3 separate regions of the Homo sapiens genome follow, and all the other regions are linked to region 3. Evidence: promoter capture Hi-C in human tissues and cell types (Jung and others, 2019). All regions are on one chromosome and are shown on one strand. Each heading gives the region's core, a stretch centred on a gene start or on the middle of the fragment in contact. The rest is flanking DNA. Distances are from core to core; before and after follow the strand shown. Region 1 overlaps DCST2 (DC-STAMP domain containing 2). Region 2 holds the start of DPM3 (dolichyl-phosphate mannosyltransferase subunit 3, regulatory). Region 3 holds the start of AQP10 (aquaporin 10).

What was found. Contacts are between HindIII fragments. The study calls those that stand out against the background at their distance.
Region 1: a fragment that was not itself captured here is called in contact with the fragment with the promoter of AQP10 in region 3 in 1 of the 25 tissues and cell types used here (dorsolateral prefrontal cortex).
Region 2: a contact is called between the fragment with the promoter of DPM3 here and the fragment with the promoter of AQP10 in region 3, in 1 of the 25 tissues and cell types used here (neural progenitor cells).

The regions. Positions count from the first base shown.
Region 1 is chr1:155,018,695-155,021,701 of GRCh38, reverse strand. It overlaps DCST2 (DC-STAMP domain containing 2), which reads left to right. Exons shown (of 15, transcript NM_144622.3): 15 at 2,942-3,007. Among named protein-coding and RNA genes, the nearest start is that of DCST2, 14 kb to the left of the region's middle. The HindIII fragment of the contact is 3,850 bases long and covers 1-3,007 here.
Region 2 is chr1:155,139,250-155,141,949 of GRCh38, reverse strand. DPM3 (dolichyl-phosphate mannosyltransferase subunit 3, regulatory) reads left to right here and starts at 1,419. Exons shown (of 2, transcript NM_153741.2): 1 at 1,419-1,459; 2 at 1,705-2,059. The coding sequence starts at 1,710. The coding sequence ends at 1,988. RefSeq lists enhancers at 1,120-1,179, 1,350-1,479. The HindIII fragment of the contact is 27,453 bases long and covers 1-2,700 here.
Region 3 is chr1:154,319,529-154,322,464 of GRCh38, reverse strand. AQP10 (aquaporin 10) reads right to left here and starts at 1,372. Exons shown (of 6, transcript NM_080429.3): 1 at 1,205-1,372; 2 at 406-532. The coding sequence starts at 1,309. RefSeq lists a silencer at 1,402-1,593. The HindIII fragment of the contact is 14,849 bases long and covers 1-2,936 here.

The sequences.
Region 1 (3,007 bases), core at 367-2,866, 700 kb before region 3:
AAACAGGTTCTGGGGAAAGACGACTGGCCCAGTTTGAGATCTTTGAGGTGTCTGTAGGGCATCCAGCTGGAGATGCCCAGGGGGGCAGTTAGAAAAGGGCAGGGATCCGGGCTGGAGGTATATTTTTGGGGGGTTAAGTTAGAGACTGTAAGAGAGAGGATGAGCTAGATCATCCTGGCAGAGGGCATGGCAGGAGAGTGGGAGGGGACAGGGAGGGGAGAGGCTCAAGAAAGCAGGAGAGCCAAACATATGAAATCAAGTAGGGGGATGGGCACAGTGGCTCACACCTGTAATTTCAGCAATTTGGGAGGCCGAGGTGGGCCGATCACTTGAGTCCAGGAGTTCGAGACCAGCCTGGGCAACATGGCAAAACTCCATCTCTACTAAAAATACAAAAACTTGCCAGGGCATGGTGGCTCACGCCTGTAATCCCAGCACTTTGGGAGGCTGAGGCGGGAGGACCACTTAAGGTCAGGAGTTCGAGACCAGCCTGGCTAACATAGTGAAACCCCATCTCTACTAAAAATACAAAAATTAGCCAGGAGTGGTGGCACGCACCTGTTAGTCCCAGCTACTCAGGAGGCTAAGGCAGGAGAATTGATTGAACCTGGGAGGTGGAGGTTGCAGGGAGCTAAGATTGTGCCACCGCATTTTAGCCTGGGTGACAGAGGGAGGATTGGTCTCAATAAATAAATAGGTAATAATACAAAAATTAGCTGGGCATGGTGGCGTGCATCTTTAGTCCCAGCTTTCAGGAGGCTAAGGTGGGAGGGATCACTTGAGCCAGGGAGGCTGAGACTGCGGTGAGCCAAGATTGCACCACTGCACTCCAGCCTGGGCAATAGTACAAGACCCAGTCTCAAAAAATTAGAAGATTAAAAAAAAAAAAATCAAGTAGGATCATGTGAAGACAGGTGACAGGCAGTTAAGACATCACTGGAGTAGCTTGTGGGAATATTTTTCATGGCATCGGGAAGACCAAAACTGGATCTGTCATGATGGGTTGAGGGGTGTCAGGTAAAGAAGACTCAGAAAGGCTGGGTGTGGTGGCTCACGCCTGTAATCCTAGCACTTTGGGAGGCTGAGGCGGGCAGATCACTTGAGGTCAGGAGTTTGAAACCAGCCTGGCCAACATGGTAAAACCTTGTCTCTACTAAAAATACAAAAAATTAGGCATGGTGGCAGGCGCCTGTAATCCCAGCTACTTGGGAGGCTGAGGCAGAAGAATCACTTGAACGCGGGAGGCGGAAGTTGCAGTGAGCCGAGATCGTGCCACTGCACTCCAGCCTGGGCGACAGAGCAAGACTCTGTCTCAAAATAAATAAATAATAAAAGGACTCAGAAATATGGTATGTGGCTCCTGCATCACTGTTGCCAGGAGTTTGATAATGCTTTTAATCTAATGAGTGCTGTAGTTTGAAAAAAATGTAAGCTTGATGGTGAAGAGAAAGAGAGAGTTAGCTTCACAGAGCAAGAAAGTAGCTTGAAGGGGATTCAGCACTAAAAGGGTTTTCTAGATCTAAGAACAGGAAGATTTGAGCATTTAGGCAGTGTAAAAGCACGTTGGGGAGGGAGGTTTGGGCTCCAGGGCCAGGTGGACCAGGTGGCCTGCCTGAGAAAGGAGCAGGCTGGCAGAGGCAGAGGGGGAGAGTATAGGTTCCCCTGAGCAGCTGAGCCCACTCCAGCCTGGTGGCCTCGCTTCTCTTTGGGGAGTAGGAGGCAAGAGCACCTGCTGAGAGAGCAGAGCAGGCAGCTGGGAGTGGAATAAAGGTTTCAAGGAGTGGGTGGTAGAGGTTGAAAGACCTGCCGTGGCAAGTGTGCAAAGAAGCCGACTAGGGAGGTTAAGGGATTTCCAGGTAGCGTCAAAGGCCCAGATGATGCTGGAAGCTGTAACTTGTAATGATTGCTCCAGTGCGCTCAGTTATGTGATTTTCTCTGGCAAATGTGGTAGCCATGAATAGGATTCACAGGTGGAGGGCTTTTTCTGGGCAGGTCAGGAGGACAAGATGGAGTGAGAATTGAGGTGTCTTTGGTAAGAGTGTCTGAGATGACTGGGGAAGAGGAGGGGCTAAGGCCCCTGGGGGCAGCCCAGGGTCTCTGTCTTGATGACGTGTTAGAGCAGGGGCAGTGGCCAGGAGGGAGAGCTGGCTGAACAGGAGGGACTCAGAGAGGGGGCCATGGCCAGGGAAGAACTCTGGAATGAATCCAGTGAAAGGCCAAGGCTGAGGAAGACGTCTGAGTGGGAACAGAGATGACGGTCAATAGAACCAAGGAGGTTAGGGATTGAGAGGCCAGAGAATTGGGTGGGTCCTCTAGCGACGAGGTTGCAGGACCATACAAACAGCAGGAGTCCAGAGCCGGCATCTTAAACAGATGTGGCAGGTGTCTGGCAGGCCTGAGGAGACAGCCACAGCACTGGTGGTACAGCTATCATGGCAGCCAGGGGCTTTGCAAAAAAACACTACGGGCCAGCTGGGTTTGAGAAGGTTAAGCTGCCTCCTCTTGGGAGGACTGCAAAGAAAACTGTCCAGTGGGCACATTCCAGTGTGAATGGGGCGGTAGAGGTCATGATGAGTCAAGAGGTTGAAGGGGAAGCAAAGCTTTCTTTTCAGAGGTTCTAGAGGGCCCAGTGAAAGGATAAGCTGGGTCAGCAGAGGGGACAGCTTGAGCCTTGAGCAGGTGTGACTACTGAGGTCACTAGTGATTCTGCCCTTCCTAGCCATGTGGCCTCAGGCAAGTCACTGCCCACCCCCCAGCATCAGCCTAAAATCAGAAAATATCTACAGCCATGGGCTGGTACGCCTCGTGGGCCTGAGAGAGCAGGAGTTGCTCAGAAAGAACAGGAGCTGGATCTGAACAGATGGGGCAGGGCAGGGGGCAGGGATGCACCTGTGAAGACAGAAGGTGGGTGATCCGGCCACCCCCTTCCTCTCCTCACTAGTGACCTGGATGAGGAGAAGGGGCCTCAGCAGAGGAAGCACGGGCAGCAGCCCTTACCTGAAGCCCA
Region 2 (2,700 bases), core at 170-2,669, 820 kb before region 3:
AAGCAGAAACCCCTGATGAACTCATCAGATCTTGTGAGACTTATTCACTATCATGAAAATAGCACGGGAAAGTCTGGCCCCCGTGATTCAATTACCTCCCCTTAGGTCCCTCGCACGTGGGAATTCTGGGAGATACACATCAACTTGAAATTTGGGTGGGGACACAGCCAAACCATATCATCTGAATGACCATATTTCTTCCTTTTTAATGAGTTGCCCCACAGTTCTTCTAGTGTGTGATCTCTCTGTTGTGGCAAGTTAATAAACCTAACTGTCAAACTACAGATGTGGTCTTTATAAGACAGGCTTATCAATTGTCTTTCCTTTCTTATATAACTCTTTGTTTCCTCTGAAGTTGATAATTGCCTAACCTTTTCTCTTACTTTGTTCTCTCTCTCTCTTTCTCTCTATACATAATAAATTCATCCCCAAAACTGTTCTAAAGAATTATACTCTTTCTTTCAATGCCTTCACCACTTCAGGTAATTCTTCTGGTCTTTCTTTTCTTTTCTTTTTTTTTGAAACCCAGACTCCTGGAGCCCTTCTTCCTCTGGCTCCAAGTTATATTGGTTGTTGTCCTTGTAAAAATATGACTACCTCTGTTCTAACAATAATCTCAAGCCTTCATGGTTAGTTGTCAATGCAACTGCTTCACTGACTCCTGCTTTCCCCCTCCACCTGAAAGGGGTCGAGTCTCTTGACATCTCTGTATCTCCAAAGTCTATCATGGTAATCAAGAAATGTTCTGGCCGGGCGCTGTGGCTCATGCCTGTAATCCTAGCACTTTGGAAGGCTGAGGTGGGCCAGTCACTTGAGGTCAGGAGTTTGAGACCAGCCTGGCCAACATAGTGAAATCCCCGTTCTCTGCTAAAAATAAAAAAATTAGCCCGGCGTGGTGGCGCGCGCCTGTAATCCCAGCTGCTCGGGAGACAGAGGTTGCAGTGAGCTGAGATCGAGCCACTGTACTCCAGCATGGGCAACAGAGCGAGACTTTGTCTCAAAAAAAAAAAAAAAAAAAAAAAAAAAAAAAAGGAGTTCTGTCCCGCCTAGGCACTATAGAGAGACCCTGTCAAGAATGGAAAGAAAGAAATCTTCGAATGAATGAACTAGTGAATGAAGGAATGGATTTCAGCGCTGGAGAATTGAGTTTAAGGGGAATGGTATTATATTCCCATCTTGTTGCAACATTTAAGGATGTCCTCAAGCCCCACGCCAGCCTGGAGCGTAGCCCAAGGTGGGAAAGCAGCGCCGAGGCCTCTCCAGACCCGGCCTGCTCCCCGTTTGCGGAGCACAGCCCACTGTACCCCCGCCTAGATTGAGGCGCTGGCCAGGAGTACACCAGGCGCCGCCATGTGAACTACAACTCCCAGAAGGCCGCGCGGAAGCGGAACGTGAACCAGGGAGGACTTCCGGACGCCAACATCCGGGCCGCGCGGGGAAGGGGAGACGTGGGGTAGAGGTAAGTGTAGGTTGAAGGCTGAATGGGGAGGGCGAGAGATGGGGAGTGGGTCTCAAATATAGAGGGGGTAGCAAGGTGGAAGGGGCCCTTCCACCTTTTGTGGGCACTCAAGTTCGGACCTCTGGGATCGGCGATTCCCCTCTGGCCAGGGCTGGTTTTAATGCTCTCCGTGGGCGGGCTTCGGTTGAGTTTGGTCCGCTTTTCCTTTCTGCTCCTCAGGGGAGCATTGCTTCCTTCTCTCGCAGTGACCATGACGAAATTAGCGCAGTGGCTTTGGGGACTAGCGATCCTGGGCTCCACCTGGGTGGCCCTGACCACGGGAGCCTTGGGCCTGGAGCTGCCCTTGTCCTGCCAGGAAGTCCTGTGGCCACTGCCCGCCTACTTGCTGGTGTCCGCCGGCTGCTATGCCCTGGGCACTGTGGGCTATCGTGTGGCCACTTTTCATGACTGCGAGGACGCCGCACGCGAGCTGCAGAGCCAGATACAGGAGGCCCGAGCCGACTTAGCCCGCAGGGGGCTGCGCTTCTGACAGCCTAACCCCATTCCTGTGCGGACAGCCCTTCCTCCCATTTCCCATTAAAGAGCCAGTTTATTTTCTAACTTCGTTTAGTTTGAGTATGGAAAACGGGTATTGGGGATTCTATGTACTAACGGTCGAGAAGTGAATGTGAAAGAACCACCTTCTTGAGGCCATCTCAGCCTTTATCTTTGCATCTTGCTGGTGTTCCCATTTTTGCTCCCAAGGAGGCAAAGACCCCTTCTCAATATTTCTCAGGATGGAAATGACATTTCACTTTCCTGGTCCTTTCAACCCTGTAGGAAGTACTTCTTTTTTTTTTTTTTTGAGACGGAGCCTTGCTCTGTCGTCCAGGCTGGAGTGCAGTGGCGTGATCTCGGCTCACTGCAAGCTCCGCCTCCCGGGTTCACGCCATTCTCCTGCCTCAGCCTCCTGAGTAGCTGGGACTACAGGCGCCTGCCACCACGCCTGGCTAATTTTTTGTATTTTTAGTAGAGTCGGGGTTTCACCGTGTTGGCCAGGATGGTCTGATCTCCTGACCTCGTAATCCGCCCGCCTCGGCCTCCCAAAGTGCTGGGATTACAGGTGTGAGTCACCGCGCCCGGCGTACTACTTCTTTTTTTTTTTTTTTTTGAGACAGGGTCTCACTCTGTTGCCCAGGCTGGAGTGCAGTGGTGCAATCATGGCTCACTGCAGCCTCACCCTCCCAGGCTCAAACAGTTCT
Region 3 (2,936 bases), core at 123-2,622:
TGGAACCTAGGTCTGTCTGCTTTTTCCACAGCAACACACTATGTCTCAAGGCTCCACCCAAGCACACCGATGCAGTGTGTATCTGGGGTACAAACAGGAGAGGTCCTGAGTGGAGATGAGCCCCCAGAGGACTTCAGGTGGGGGATACAAGAGGATAGCAGCTGCCCTTCGTGCCCTGCCATTGATTTCTGTCTAGGTGAGCCAAGCATTAGTGTGAGGAAGCAGGATGGAGAGATACAGAAAGAGGAGGGGCTGGTGGGGCCAAAGGCTTATTTCAGTCTGGGACACTGTTCAAGGGGATAATGTCCACGAGTCACAGAAGGATTTGCGTTTCCACCATCACCAGACAGACAAACTGGCATGCACATCCCACGTGCTCTGATGACCAGACCCCACCCTCCTCACCTGAGACGTTACCACCCACGTAGATGGCTATCGTAACGGCCAGAGAGCCAGCCAGAAACATGGTGAAGAAGTTGCCTTTGGTTTCTCCACTGGTGACAGCCTGGGCCACAGCTCCTTGGGTGAGGAGCTGCTGAGAAGAGGAGAGATGAGGAACAGGGAGCCCAGGAGACCAACAGGGAGAAAGGTTGGGAAGGCCAGGGGAGCAGCCAAGGAGATGAATGAGCACAGAAGACAAGCAAGGGAAGGAGAAAAGCAGAAGGAGGGAAGGGAAAAGAAATGGGGAAAGTGGAGGAAGAAGAAAGGGAAAGAATGTGGGAAAAAAGAAAAGAATTTACCCAACTCATAGGCATTTGAGGGTACAAACCCATGGCAGGGCTCAGCTTTAAAAAGTCTTATCTAAGATTCTTTCTATGGAAGAGTTCCATCAAAGCCAATTTTAAAAGCCTATGTGAAAAATAATTATTCTTGCTGCACTTTATACAATCATCAGGCCAAGTATAATAAAGCACATTGGTCTTACCATGAAAATGGTCTTTCATAAAAATGGGAAACTGAAGAGAGAAAAATTATGTTTCAAGAACTATGATACACTTGTTATTAAAGAAAGAATAAAAATGACAAGAATAAAAATGATGAAGTAGGAGAGGAAAGGAGATTAGGAGAGACGAGAGGATAAAAACGAAAAGTGATAGGGAGTTGAGAGGAAGGGGGACACCAAGAGAAAGAGATAAGGACAACAGAAGGAGCCAGGAACTTTTGCCCAACCCCCTTCTTTCCTTCCCGCAGTGATCCTACCTACCATGAGTACAAACACACCCAGAAACTCTGCCAGGCACTGCCGGGCCAGGAGGCTGCGTATCCGGAGGTGGCCCATGATTTCAGCCGGGGCCTGAGTGAAGACCATGGTGGAAACACCCTATTGCTATTCACTGCTCCCTCTGTCTGCATAGGCACACTGTCACTGCACAGCTACTGCCTGCCTCCAGCAAAGATAAGGAACAGACTTTAAAACCATTAGCTCAGTTCCTGAACAGCAGCTACGTGTCTGTGCACGTGTGTAGGCTAGGAAACAGAGAGATAACAAGAGAATGTCTGGGAGCAGGCTATGAACACAGAGCCTGGAGTTTACCCAACCTCTGTCTCTTTTACCCTTCATTCCCAGTCATCACAGGACTAGCCTCCCCCATCCTGACAAATAGAAGGAAGTACCCCGCTTCATAGACATTAGATCTCTTGGTCCTGAAGTCAGCTCTGCAAAGTAGTACTATTGCTTCCATTCTACAGATGAGGCTAGTGGGCCTTAGAACTCCCCAAGATCAAACTTTTTTTTTTTTTTTTTCTGAGAGAGAGTCTTGCTCTGTCCCCCAGGCTGGAGTGCAGTGGCACCATCTCAGCTTACTGCAACCTCCACCTCCCAGGTTCAAGCAATTCTCCTGCCTCAGCCTCCCAAGTAGATGGGACTACAGGTCCATCACACCTGGCTAATTTTGATATTTTTTAGTAAAGACTTGGTTTCTCGGGAGGCCGAGGCAGGCAGATCACGAGGTCAGGAGATCAAGACTATCCTGGCCAACATGGTGAAACTCCATCTCTACTAAAATACAAAAAAATTAGCGTGGTGGTGCACGCCTGTAGTCCCAGCTACTCGGGAGGCTGAGGCAGGGGAATCACTTGAACCAGGGAGGCGGAGGTTGCAGTGAGCCGAGATTGTGCCACTGCACTCCAGCCTGGCAACAGAGCGAGACTTTGTCTCAAAAAAAAAAAAAAAAAAAAAGACGGGGTTTCACCATGTTGGCCAGGCTGGTCTCAAACTCCTGACCTCTAGTGATTCACCTTCCTTGGCCTCCCAAAGTGCTGGGATTACAAGCGTGAGCCACCGTGCCCGGCCCAAGATCACACAATTATTTCATGGCTGAGTGAATTCAAATCCAGATTTTCTGACTCTCCAGCTGGTAACCCACAAAGCCTCTCATTTAGAACCTGAAGCCTTACCCCAAACCATTTGGATGCTTGAAGAACTCAATAGGCATCTGGAAAGACTGGGCTAAAGACCACAGACTGTGGGAATGAAACTCACATATTGAGTGCTTGTACTTCCCTTATGCCGAGTGTCACATAGGTTAGAGAATACTCCATCTTTGTGTCCCCTGACATGGCTTGACATGAGGCCTTCACACTCATGCTGAGCTCCACCTGGCCTTCTCTGGGTGCATGCCACTCTTGCTCTGCATGAAGTAACCGCATCCTACTTCTTCATATCTCAAGGCTCCAATTAAATGCATTCAAAGAATCTACGTCTAGACACTGGAGAAACAGTGGTGAACAAAACATAGTCTCTGCCCTCCTAGAGCTTATGTTCTAGTAGGTGGAAACAGACAATATGCAACTTTTTAAAATACCATATACAGTTTATGAAGTTCTTGAGGGCTACCATTATGATTTATGTAACCCTGTGGGCTCTACCACTGTCCTGGGCACATCTGTGTGACTAGTAAAGAAATAATATTTCTTTACTAGGTTTAATGGATACT